3 separate regions of the Homo sapiens genome follow, and all the other regions are linked to region 1. The links are contacts of gene promoters, found by promoter capture Hi-C in human tissues and cell types (Jung and others, 2019). All regions are on one chromosome and are shown on one strand. The core of a region is centred on a gene start or on the middle of the fragment in contact, and the rest is flanking DNA. Distances in the headings are between cores, read along the strand shown. Region 1 holds the start of RFC2 (replication factor C subunit 2). Region 2 overlaps EIF4H (eukaryotic translation initiation factor 4H). Region 3 overlaps CLIP2 (CAP-Gly domain containing linker protein 2).

The links. Contacts are between HindIII fragments. The study calls those that stand out against the background at their distance.
Region 2: a contact is called between a fragment that was not itself captured here and the fragment with the promoter of RFC2 in region 1, in 4 of the 25 tissues and cell types used here (IMR-90 fibroblasts, dorsolateral prefrontal cortex, lymphoblastoid cells and 1 more).
Region 3: a fragment that was not itself captured here is called in contact with the fragment with the promoter of RFC2 in region 1 in 3 of the 25 tissues and cell types used here (dorsolateral prefrontal cortex, hippocampus and mesenchymal stem cells).

What each region holds. Positions count from the first base shown.
Region 1 is chr7:74,252,881-74,256,661 of GRCh38, forward strand. RFC2 (replication factor C subunit 2) reads right to left here and starts at 1,519. Exons shown (of 11, transcript NM_181471.3): 1 at 1,391-1,519. The coding sequence starts at 1,503. RefSeq lists enhancers at 551-1,153, 1,154-1,756, 1,193-1,422, 1,757-2,359, 1,833-1,912 and 2 more and a silencer at 1,473-1,592. The HindIII fragment of the contact is 19,783 bases long and covers 1-3,781 here.
Region 2 is chr7:74,181,381-74,185,141 of GRCh38, forward strand. All of the region lies in intron 1 of EIF4H (eukaryotic translation initiation factor 4H), which reads left to right. Among named protein-coding and RNA genes, the nearest start is that of MIR590, 7.9 kb to the right of the region's middle. The HindIII fragment of the contact is 4,931 bases long and covers 1-3,761 here.
Region 3 is chr7:74,374,015-74,378,179 of GRCh38, forward strand. It overlaps CLIP2 (CAP-Gly domain containing linker protein 2), which reads left to right. Exons shown (of 17, transcript NM_003388.5): 10 at 1,873-2,808. Among named protein-coding and RNA genes, the nearest start is that of GTF2IRD1, 78 kb to the right of the region's middle. The HindIII fragment of the contact is 5,767 bases long and covers 1-4,165 here.

The DNA of each region.
Region 1 (3,781 bases), core at 269-2,768:
GAGATCATGCATGCCACTATACTCCAGCCCGGGCTACAGAGTGAGACTCTGTTTCAAAAATAAATAATAAATAAATAAAATGTAATAAGATGCCCAAGTGCCATTTGAAAAGTTAAAGGCATGAGAATTGTACAGCATAGGCTTCAAACCTGCCACAGCAGAGAAACACCTGTTGCTGCTGGAGCACGGCCAGCACAGGTCATCTGGAGCAATGTGACACTGTGCTGCAACCCTGTCCGCCCGTCACAAGAGGCCCAGCACATACAGCACTGACATCATTTGGTGTGACAACATGGGTGCAACCAAGCTCCTTTCTCATCCCTTACCTGCCAGTTTCTTTTCTTTTTTTTTTTTTTGGAGACAGAGTTTTGCTCTTGTTGCCCAGGCTGGAGTGCAATGGTGCGATCTTGGGTCACTACCAACCTCAGGTGATCTGCCCACCTCAGCCTCCCAAAGTGCTGGGATTACTGGCGTGAGCCACCATGCCAGGCAAGGATTACCTGCCAGTTTCTGCAGACGTGTGCCAAATACACAGCATAGCTGGCTAGACACCGTAGGCCTAGGCTGGGTACAGTGGCTCATGCCTGTAATCCCAGCACTTTGGGAAGGCGAGGCGGACGGATCACTTGAGATCAGGACTTCGAGACCAGCCTGGCCAACATGGTGAAACCCAGCCTCTACTAAAAACACAAAATTAGCAGGGTGTGATGGTACATGCCTGTAATCCCAGCTACTAGGAAGGCTGAGGCAGAATTGATTGAACCAGGGAGATGCAGGTTGTAGTGAGCAGAAATCACACCACTGCACTCCAGCCTGTGTGACAAAGTGTGACTCCATCTAAAAAAAAAAAATTAACTGGGCATGGTGGTGCGTGCCTGTAGTCCCATCTACTTAGGAGGCTGAGGCAGGGGGATCACTTGAGCCAAGGAGCTGGACATCAGCCTGGGCAACACAGCAAAACCCCCGTCTTGATTTTTTTAAAAAAATTTCAAATGTAAATGTTATTGAACCTAACAGTCAAAATATTATTTTCAACATGTAATCGATATTTTTTTTAAAAGATTGAAGTTTTTGAAAACACTAGGTCATACACTACTATACACAAAAACTTTTGAAAAAACCAACTAGGTCAGAGTAGGTGGCCACCCGGGGTAGCCCTAATTGTCATAAGCATTGTAGTGAGCGAGACTCCGCTCGCAGAGTTTAGACCGGCCACTCTCGATCCATGTCCGTCGCCTTCTTGAAATCATCTCGATGCCACCCGGGGCCTCCTCCTCCCTCGGGATTCCCCAAAACGAGCCCCTGACCCCCGAGTTTCTCCGGAGCACGGCCCGCCACTCGCCCACCCTCACGTCCAAACGCGCCCATTCTTTACGGCCTGGGACCTCACCACGGCAGTTCGTAGTGGCCGGCGCTGCCGGGGGCCTTGCTGAAGGCAGGGGCAGGGTCAGAGTCCTGGGCCTCCACCTCGCCCGCGCCACCACAGACGGCCTCCACCTCCATTCTCGCGCCTCCTCTTCCCGCCACCCGAGGCACCGCCCCTTGACGCCGCCACGCAAGCCCCGCCCCCTGGCTTCCGCCGGGCGCGAGCGGAAGTTACGTACCCGCGCCTCTCTGTGCCTGCGAAGAGGGTTCCGGTGGTGCCCTGGCGGCCATCGCTGGAGGCCGCGGTTGCTATGGGAGACCTGGCGCCCGGCCTGGGAGCGACAGGAAGGCGAGCTGTGGCCGCGACGCCTTCCGAGAAAGCAGGTCGCTCTCGGAACGGACGTTTGTGTGTGGTTTCTGTGGAAGATCCGCTCCGCGGCGGCGTGGGAGGAGCAGGGCCTGGAGGGGTTGCGGCCAAACGCGGGCTTCGGTGTTGGGACACGGACAACGCTGGCGTCCGGGCGCTGCTGGGCAGCGGGGTCCGGGGATGACGTCTGGGGCTGCCCGTGCCCACTTTTCCAGATTGCTCTGAATGTCCTAGTGAGCTGCTCCCGTTGGGTAGGCTCCTGCGCCTCAACCGCGCTCGGTACTCGACGTTTATTATCAGGGAATTCTCGGCTGCAAGATGGGAATTCCACCCCCACCCCATTTTGCAGAGGAGGAAACTGAAACCGTCCTTTTGTCAGATGAAATGCAATGTTCATTCCAGGAAAATAGGGACTCAAGGCCGGTGCGGTGGCTCACCCCTCTAATCCCAGCACTTTGGGGGACAGAGACCGGAAGAGCGATTAAGCCCAGGAGTTCGAGACCAGCCTGGGCAACAAAGTGAGATCCCCGTCTCTACAAAAATAAAAATTAAAAAAGTAGCCGGGCGTGGTGGCGCGCACCTGCAGTTCCAGCTACTCAGGAAGCTGAGGCGGAGGAGTGCTTGAGCCCAGGAGGTGCAGGCTGCAGTGATCTCTGATCACACCACTGCACTCCAACCTGGTCTGCAGCAAGACCCTGTCTCAAAAAAGAAAAAGTAAATACTTCAACCTTGCAAGGGTTTTGAGCATTCTTATGGGCTGTTTTTCTACCCAATCTTTCCTCCCATAGCCCAAATTGTCATAATATTCAATAATGATGATCCCAGAACTTTGGGAGGCTAAGGTGGGAGGATCCCTCAAGCCGAGGAGTTTGAGACCAGCCTGGGCAACATGGTGAGACCCCATCTCTACAAAAAAAATTTTTTAAATTATCCAGTTGTGGTGGTACGCGACAGTAGTCCCAGTTACTCGGGAGGCTGAGGCAGGAGAATCGGTTGAGCCCATGAGGTTGAAGCCACAGTGAACCATGATCAAGTCAATGTACTCCAGCCCCGGGGGACAGAGTGAAATCCTGTTTCTAAAAAAATAAGAAGAAAAGAAAGTAGGTACTTCAGATTCACAAGTGCTTTGACCATTCTTTGTTTTGTTTCTTGTTTTTTGTTTTTGAGATGGAGTCTCACTCTGTCACCCAGACTGGAGTACAGTGGTGTGATCTCAGCTCACTGCAATGTCAGGCTCCCAGGTTCAAGTGATTCTCCTGCCTCAACCTCCCGAGTAGCTGGGACTACAAGCGTGTGCCACCACACCTGGCTAATACTTGTATTTTCAGTAGAGATGGGGTTTCGCCACGTTGACCAGGCTGGTCTCAAACTCCTGACTTCAAGTGATCCGCTTGCCTCAGCCTCCCAAAGTGCTGGGATTACAGGTGTGAGCCACCGCGTCTGGCCAAGCAGTTGGTTTTAACGATAGTATTAACGTATACAGATTCACAACTTAACACAGTGTTTTTCTTTCCATGTAATTTGGAAAAAATGTTTGAATTGGCCATCTCTCCCCTATTCCCCCTTTAAACTGATGGAGCGGTCTTGTCTGTTTTTTCAATCATTATTCACAGGTCTTTTATTTTTCCGGAGGAGAAAATACACACTCCTCTTGAAATATACACTTTTCTTGAAATGTCTCCGCGGTTTTTCCATAGGATTGTTCCTTTGTAATCTTCATGTTTTCCTTGTAATCACTATGACACACATCCCTCCCATCACATAACACAGTTTAGAAACTAATTTTTAATAAGTACAGAACACGGTTCCTTTCATAATTCTCCAAAAACCCCCACTCTACAGGAGGCCTTTTGGCGCTGCTAGGGCTCTCCTCTAACTGATGGAATGCCAGGAGAACCAGAGATGGAGGTGACTCTTAGGGCAAAGCTGCACTGTCAGGACATTTCTTTTTTTTAGACTGAGCCTTTTGTGACCTATTGGACTTGGGCCCAAACAGAGCTCAGAACTTAAAAACTCCAGCCGCTCCCCTGGGACTGAAAAACAGCAATG
Region 2 (3,761 bases), core at 946-3,445, 71 kb before region 1:
TACCGTAGTAGATGTATCTTATATATTCTTTCTTTGTTTTTTTTGTTTTTTGTTTTGTTTTGTTTTCTGAGGCAGAGTTTTACTCTTGTTGCCCAGGCTGGAATGCAGTGGCACTATCTCGGCTCACCACAACCTCCGCCTCCTGGGTTCAAGCGATTCTCCTGCCTCAGCCTCCCGAGTAGCTGGGATTACAGGCATGTGCCACCACACCTGGCAAATTTTGTATTTTTAGCAGAGATAGAGCAGAAACAGAGGGTTTCTACATGTTGGTCAGGCTGGTCTCGAACTCCCGACCTCAGGTAATCTGCCTGCCTCGGCCTCCCAAAGTGCTGGGATTACAGGTGTGAGCCACCGAGCCCGGCCTTTTTTTTTGAGATGGAGTCTCACTCTGCCTCCCAGGCTAGAGCTCAGTGGCGCGATCTCAGCTCACTGCAGCCTCCGCCACCACCCCTCAGCCTCCCGAGTAGCTGGGATTACAGGCACCTGCCACTGTGCCCAGCTGATTTTTGTACTGTTAGTAGAGATGGGGTTTCACCATGTTGGCCGGGTTGGTCTTGAACTCCTGACCTTGTGATTCATCCGCTTCAGCCTCCCAAAGTGCTGGGATTATAGGTGTGAGCCACCACACCCGGCCTCTTACATACTTTTCATACTTGAGTATGTTTCTAACAGATAAGGGCTTCTTTTTTTTCTTTAACCAACAGTTTTTCCAGTACCCAGTGTTCAGTTTTTCCCAGTTTTTGCAAAGATGACTTTGTATAGTTGGATTGTTTGAATATGCAAAACATTACAGAAAAATGTAGAAAATTTAGAACACGAACCAAAGCATAATATAGTGACCTGTATACCCATTACCTACTCTTTAAGTGACCACTCTTCTCTATACTACTATGGTTTATAATAGGTAGTATAAATGGTATTTATCAAAGGCTTGACCTTTGAAAGCTTAACCATTTTTGATGATTGTCAAAAACCCAAATGTTACCTGTTTGTAGATATGGGGTTTTGCCGTGTTCCCCACGCTGGTCTCAAACTCCTGAGCTCAAGTGATCTCCCCACCTTGGCCTCCCGAAGTGCCGGGATTGCAGGTGTGAGCCATGGCGTCCGGCCAGTCATTTTCTTTGGTTTACACTACTTTACCCTTCTGGGCCCTACTTTCCCCAAATGAGAGCTAGAAACTCCTCTGTTGGGAGGTTTAAATGAGATGTGTCTCATAATTTGGAGGCATAGTCTTGCCCTGTTGCCCAGGCTGGAGTGCAGTTGCACAATCACAGTCCCAAAGTGCTGGGACTACAGGCCGGAGCCACATGCCCATGCCCAGCCTTGAGCACTCAACTTTCTGTTGCATCTACTTACTGGATACATCCCTACCCTCATAACATCTACTCTGTACATTGGCTTCTTTTTATAGTTACCCTCTCTCAGTCTCCTTTGACACCTACAGATCTTTTCTGGCTCACCCTAAGGGTTCAGTATTGGCCCCATCTGCCATCTGGAAGTGGAGTCCCACTTCTGTTGCTCTCTGCTGTGCTGCATATCCTGGCTCCCAACTGCTCCACCCTGGTGAAACTGTTCTCATTGCTATCTTCCAGATTTTCTGCAGTCCTTTGCTTGTGACGTGATTTCTCCTTTCCAAATTATCAGCTCCTTGAGGGCAGAAACCGAGTCTTAGGTTTGTGCCTTCTCTACATTCTCTCCACCCTTCATAGACATGCAGATACGTGGTTGATTTGAGTAAGGAAAAGTGATTTGCCTGTCAAGGATTTTAGTCACACTTGGAGCCGAAAGTAGGGTTTCCTAAATTACTGAGGCTGTAATTGACTACTTTAATCTTTCATAATCAATAGACTGTCCCTAATGGGCAGTAGAAAGGACACTGCTCAGTAGTGGCAGGGAGTTTGCAGCACAGACCTTGACTTCAGGTGTCCTGAATTGGCACGCTCTGCTGATCTGTTCCTGTTCTACACGCACTCCTGCCAGCCCAGTGTAGCCTCAGGCCTGTTGGGTCTACCCAGGAGCATGGCAGAATTATATAGCACTTGGTACTTAGGAAATGTTTTTATGGTCAGTTTTAAACTTATAAAATCAAGATTGAAATATAACAGACAAGAAAACATAGGTACAGAGGTAATTTGGCAGAGGTCCTACATCAAGCTAGCTAAGGTGTCAAGTGAACCTGTTCTCCCATGTGTTGTTATTGATCTGTGTAGGAATGTACTGAATTTCACGAAACACAGCTTATTTATTTAGGTAGTAGTCCCCCAAACTTGAATCTAGTGAAAGGTGGCAGACATTTTAGCTCAGAGTTTTCTGACATTTGATTTTGTAAATGAATCGGTGGGTAACAGATCTGTGTCATCCTATGTGATGTGATGTGATGTCATCCTATGTGATGTGTACTCTGGGGTACTCACATCCTATGTGATGTGTCTCAAGTGACTGTCACACAGTGGACACTTTACCAGTGCTAGCTTGAATGAGGTCTACCTCCATGGCCCAGCCCTGCTGCCCCCTAGTGATTTCATTGAATGGGATGAAAAGGTAAAAAGTGCTTAAGACCTGTAGAAGGGACTACATCAGGTAGGGTATGGGAATATTTAGGACTACTTTGGTAATTATTGAAAAGTCTAGAGTATTAAGCCACTGGTGGTTTTGTGAGGCACGAGTGAGTTGAACAGTTTGGTGGGCTTTGGTGTATCTTTGCTCCAGAATTATATCACCAGTTAGCTGTTAGGTGCTGCCATTTGGTAACGTGCCAACTTTTCAAAAATGGTTTGCCCCAAACTAGATTTTTCTATCTTCTCCAAAGCCAGAGCCACCTTCCTGTCCTAGTGCATTTTTAGCAGTGCCCCGTCATCTTACTGGCATTCACCTGGGCTTCCTGTGCTCAATCAGGGGTCAAGTCTGGCCTGATCTCAGTTCCACAGTTCCTCTACTCTGTAAGTTCGAGCACAATTAGCAAGCCTTCGCACCTCCATTTTCCTTACTTAGCAACTACATCAAACACCCGAGAGTTTATCATCTCTCTTCATCCTCACCCTCCTTTTTAGTTTTTATGTATATGTTACACATTCATACACACAAACATACCTGCATATATACATGTGTTTTATACGTCCCACACAACTGTGAGCTGCTTACATACAAGACAGTCTTTTAACATCATTACGCATCACTAGATGTTTAATGTTGAGTAATGAATTTAAACTGTTTTTAACATTGACCCTCCATTTTTATGGTTTTCCACATGTTTATACTGTATCTTGTTTTTTGTTTGTTTGGTTTTGTTGTTGTTTTTTGTGCTTTTTTGTTTGTTTTTTGTGTTTTTTTGTTTTTGTTTTTTTGAGATGGAGTCTCGCTCTGTAGCCCAGGCTGAAGCGCAGTGACACAGTCTCAGCTCACTGCAAGCTCCACCTCAGCCTCTGAAGTAGCTGGGATTACAAGTGTGTGCTACCACACCTGGCTAGTTTTTGTATTTTTAGTAGAGACGGAGTTTTACCATGTTGGCCAGGCTGGTCTTGAACTTCTGGCCTCAAGTGATCCACCCACCTTGACCTCCCGAAGTGCTGGGATTACAGGTATGAGCCACTGTGCCCCGCCTTTTTGTTGTTGTTGTTGTTTCTTCAGTTGGAGACAGTCTCCTTCTGTCACCCAGGCTGGAGTGCAGTGGTGCCATCACAGTTCACTGCAGCAACAACCTCCTGGGCTCAGGTGATCCTCCCACCTCAGCCTCCCAGGTAGCTTGGGACTACAAGTGTGGA
Region 3 (4,165 bases), core at 980-3,479, 120 kb after region 1:
ACAGTCCCCTCCAGGCTTACCATGCACGCCTGGGACCCAGCACTCTGTGCAGGCACTCACATGCGAACAGCCAGCCGGCCCCCCAGCAGTCCCTCTGAGAGCAAGCAAAAACAGGCAGCAAGTGATGACTGGAAAAGCACCCCATAAACAGTATGTAGATGTAGAAGGAGCAGTGGTCAGTTTCTGCATGTTGGTCTCCGTGCACAAGTGGCTGTGTGCATGTGTGCAGGTGTCCAGAGACACACAGGGTCCATTTGCACACACTGGCCATTGCTCAGTGACCATGTGCTTGTACGGTACACACTCATGTGCATGAAGACTGAACGCACAAACTGACCCAGTCACGGCGGACCGGCCGGAGCCCTCCAAATGCATCTTGATCTAGGGTTCAACCTGATGAAAACACAAAAACAGGGCTGGGTGTGGTGGCTCACACCTGTAATCCCAGCACTTTGGGAGGCCAAGGTTGGTGAATCATCTGAGGTCATCTGAGGTCAGGAGTTCAAGACCAGACTGGCCAACATGGTGAAACCCTGTCTCTATTAAAAATACAAAAATTAACTGAGCGGGGTGGTGCACGCCTGTAGTCCCAGCTACTTGGGAGGCTGAGACAGGAGAATCATTTGAACCGGGGAGGTGGAGGTTGCAGTGAGCCGAGATGGTGCCACTACACTCCAGCCTGGGCAAGAGAGTGAGACTCCATCTCGAAAAAAACAAAAACCAAAAAACAAAACAATAAGTTTATTGAACTAAAGGATACCTTCAGAAACAAAATGTTTAAAGCTTGTAATAGATTTAAAGCTTGAAAATATATCATTTTCATATCTATGACCATCAACGTGATCAAGGTGGTTTTTTGGAGAATGGAGCCTCTAAGAGTTTTTTGTTGAAAGATGGGTCTGGGAGCACCCTCTTCTGCTTTAAGCATTAAACTGGACCCTTCTTGGCCACTGCCTCCAGCCAGCCCCTTGGGCTGGATATCCTTCCTAAGGCAGGATAATGCAAAATTCACTGTGGCCTCTGTTCTTTAAAAAGAATGTTAACAAAAAAAAAATTTCTTAATAAAAATACAAAGAACTTTAACTCAGTTGGGCATGGTGGCTCATGCCCATAGAGTCCCAGCTGCTTTTGAGGCTGAGGCAGGAAGATTGCTTGAGCCCAGGAATTTGAGGGTACAGTGAGCTATTATTGCACGGCTGCACTCCAGCCTGGGCAACATAGCTAGACCCCCGTCTCTTTTAAAAAAAAAAAAAATGCTGGGCGGTGGCTCATGCCTATAATCCCAACACTTTGGGACGCCAGGGCGGGTGGATCACTTGAGGCTAGGAGTTCGAGACCAGCCTAGGCAAAAGAGTGACACCCCATCTTTACTAAAAAAACACAAAAATTCCCCAGGCGCATGGTGGTGCATGCCTGTAGTCCCAGCTACTCGGGAGGCTGAGGCAGGAGAATCGCTTGAACCTGGGAAGTAGAGGTTGCAGTGAGGTGAGATCACGCCACTGCATTCCAGCCTGCGTGACAGAGCGAGACTCAAAAAAAAAAAAAAAAAAAAAAAAAAAGCTGTAACCTCAAATAGGTGGTTTCTTTTAACCACCAATTTGTCCAAGCCACCTAGGTAGAGGAGTGGCGACAGTTGGCTCTGAATCTTTGGGGTACAGCCAGGGAAGTCTTTCTGGATACTGTGATGGGCCAGGCCTCTACATCCAGCCAGCACTCAGGAGGGAGTGAGCGCCTTTCCCTTCCCATGACCTCCACCTGCTGGGGCTGGTGCCCTCGAATGGACGCCCCCTACCCGGCCCCCACCATTGTGCCCTCCTTACCTTCCAGCCAGCCAGCCAGCCCGCTGATCCCTGTCTCCCTCTCTCCCCACAGCTGACCACAGTGGCCGAGAAGTCGCGCGTGCTGCAGCTGGAGGAGGAGCTCACCCTGCGCCGAGGTGAAATCGAGGAGCTCCAGCAGTGCCTGTTGCACTCGGGTCCCCCACCTCCGGACCACCCAGACGCCGCCGAGATCCTGCGGCTACGGGAGCGGCTGCTCTCGGCCAGCAAGGAACACCAGAGGGAGAGTGGGGTGCTGCGGGATAAATACGAGAAGGCCCTGAAGGCCTACCAGGCGGAGGTGGACAAGCTCCGCGCGGCCAACGAGAAGTACGCACAGGAGGTGGCGGGCCTGAAGGACAAGGTTCAGCAGGCCACCAGCGAGAACATGGGGCTAATGGACAACTGGAAATCCAAGCTGGACTCGCTGGCCTCGGACCACCAGAAGTCCCTGGAGGACCTCAAAGCCACCCTGAACTCGGGCCCAGGCGCCCAGCAGAAGGAGATCGGCGAGCTGAAGGCAGTGATGGAGGGCATCAAGATGGAGCACCAGCTGGAGCTGGGTAACTTGCAGGCCAAGCATGACCTGGAGACCGCCATGCACGTGAAGGAGAAGGAGGCCCTGCGAGAGAAGCTGCAGGAGGCCCAGGAGGAGCTGGCTGGGCTGCAGCGGCACTGGCGGGCCCAGCTGGAGGTGCAAGCCAGCCAGCACCGGCTGGAGCTGCAGGAGGCCCAGGACCAGCGCCGGGATGCCGAGCTGCGTGTGCACGAGCTGGAAAAACTGGACGTGGAGTACCGGGGCCAGGCGCAGGCTATCGAGTTCCTCAAGGAGCAGATCTCGCTGGCCGAGAAGAAGATGTTGGACTACGAGCGGCTGCAGCGGGCAGAAGCCCAGGGCAAACAGGAGGTCGAGAGTTTGCGGGAGAAGCTCCTGGTGGCTGAGAACAGACTCCAGGCGGTCGAGGCCCTGTGCTCCTCCCAGCACACCCACGTAGGCGCCTGCCCCTCCTGCTGGGGCGGGAGGGTCGGGCTGGGGAGGGCTTGGCCTTTTGCTGACCTCTGTTCTGCAGCCCAGGAAGCATTTCCCTTGTCCCCGAGAGCATGCCTGGGGCAGTCAAGGAAGGGGTCACCTGGCTTAGAGGAGGAGGAGCTCCTTGGCCCTCTGTTAGAGGGGCAGTGCGCCCTGGTGACCAGGGAGAACCGAAGCTGGTCTGAGCTGACCTGGCTGCATCCCCCCGCACAGAGCAGACCTGGAGAGATGGGACCTCCGTGCAGAGGACGGGCTTTGATTTACCCATACATGTCTTAGGGTGCAGGGCTCCTAGGACCCGGGACCTCAGACCCTGTGCCCTGGGGCTGGCACAGACCTGAAGGCAAGCTCTGCCTATCCCCCTGGGGGCACCCATCTCCAACTTAGAAGCTCACCTGGGGAATCAGCGGCAGCCCCCTTTCTGCCAGTCCTAATGAGACTTTAGCAACGGTGCCAACGAGTACTTCCCCAGAATGTGGGAGTTCCCGGAGTGGGGTCTGGAAGGCTAGAGGGGGTGGCCCTAAAGAGGTCGCTGTCACCAATGTCAATTTTGCTCCAAATCTAGAAATTCCTTAAGCATCTACCCCTTCTTCCTTCAGCTGAACCCATCCTCCCAGCCCCTCTGAGGAGGTCAACACCCAGGTGGGCTGTGCCCACTCCACCAGGGCCAGGAAGGGCCTTTTGAGTGGCTCTGGGTACCACGTCTTATGCCAGGCCCTATGTGACTCCATTTCACCTTAACATCCTTAGATTGATACTGGCTCCATTTCACAGGTGAGCAAACCAAGACTTTCCCAGGTCCACAGCCTCTCAGTGGCAGAGATGTTCAACCCCATTCCCTGTGGGGCTGACAGAGAGTGCCCAAGACAACAGGAATTAATTCATAGGAGGGATGGCTAGCAACGGACTCTTGCCTGTATACAAATTGTACTCAGAGATTCTTGAGTTTCCAGTTCCCCCACATACATTTTTTTTTTTTTTGAGATGGAGTTTTGCTCTTGTTGCCCAGGCTGGAGTGCAGTGGTGGGATCTCGGCTCACTGCAACCTCCGCCTCCCAGGTTCAAGCAATTCTCCTGTATCAGCCTCCCAAGTAGCTGCAATTACAGGCATGCACCACCACGCCCAGCTAATTCTTATATTTTTAGTAGAGGTGGGGTTTCGCCAGGTAGTCCAGGCTGGTCTCAAACTCCTGACTTCAGGTGATCTGCCCGCCTCGGCCTCCCAAAGTGCTGGGATTACAGGCGTGAGGCACCATCCCTGGCCTTTTTTTTGGTTTTGTTTTTGAGACAGGGTCTTGTTCTGTCTCCCAGGCTGGAG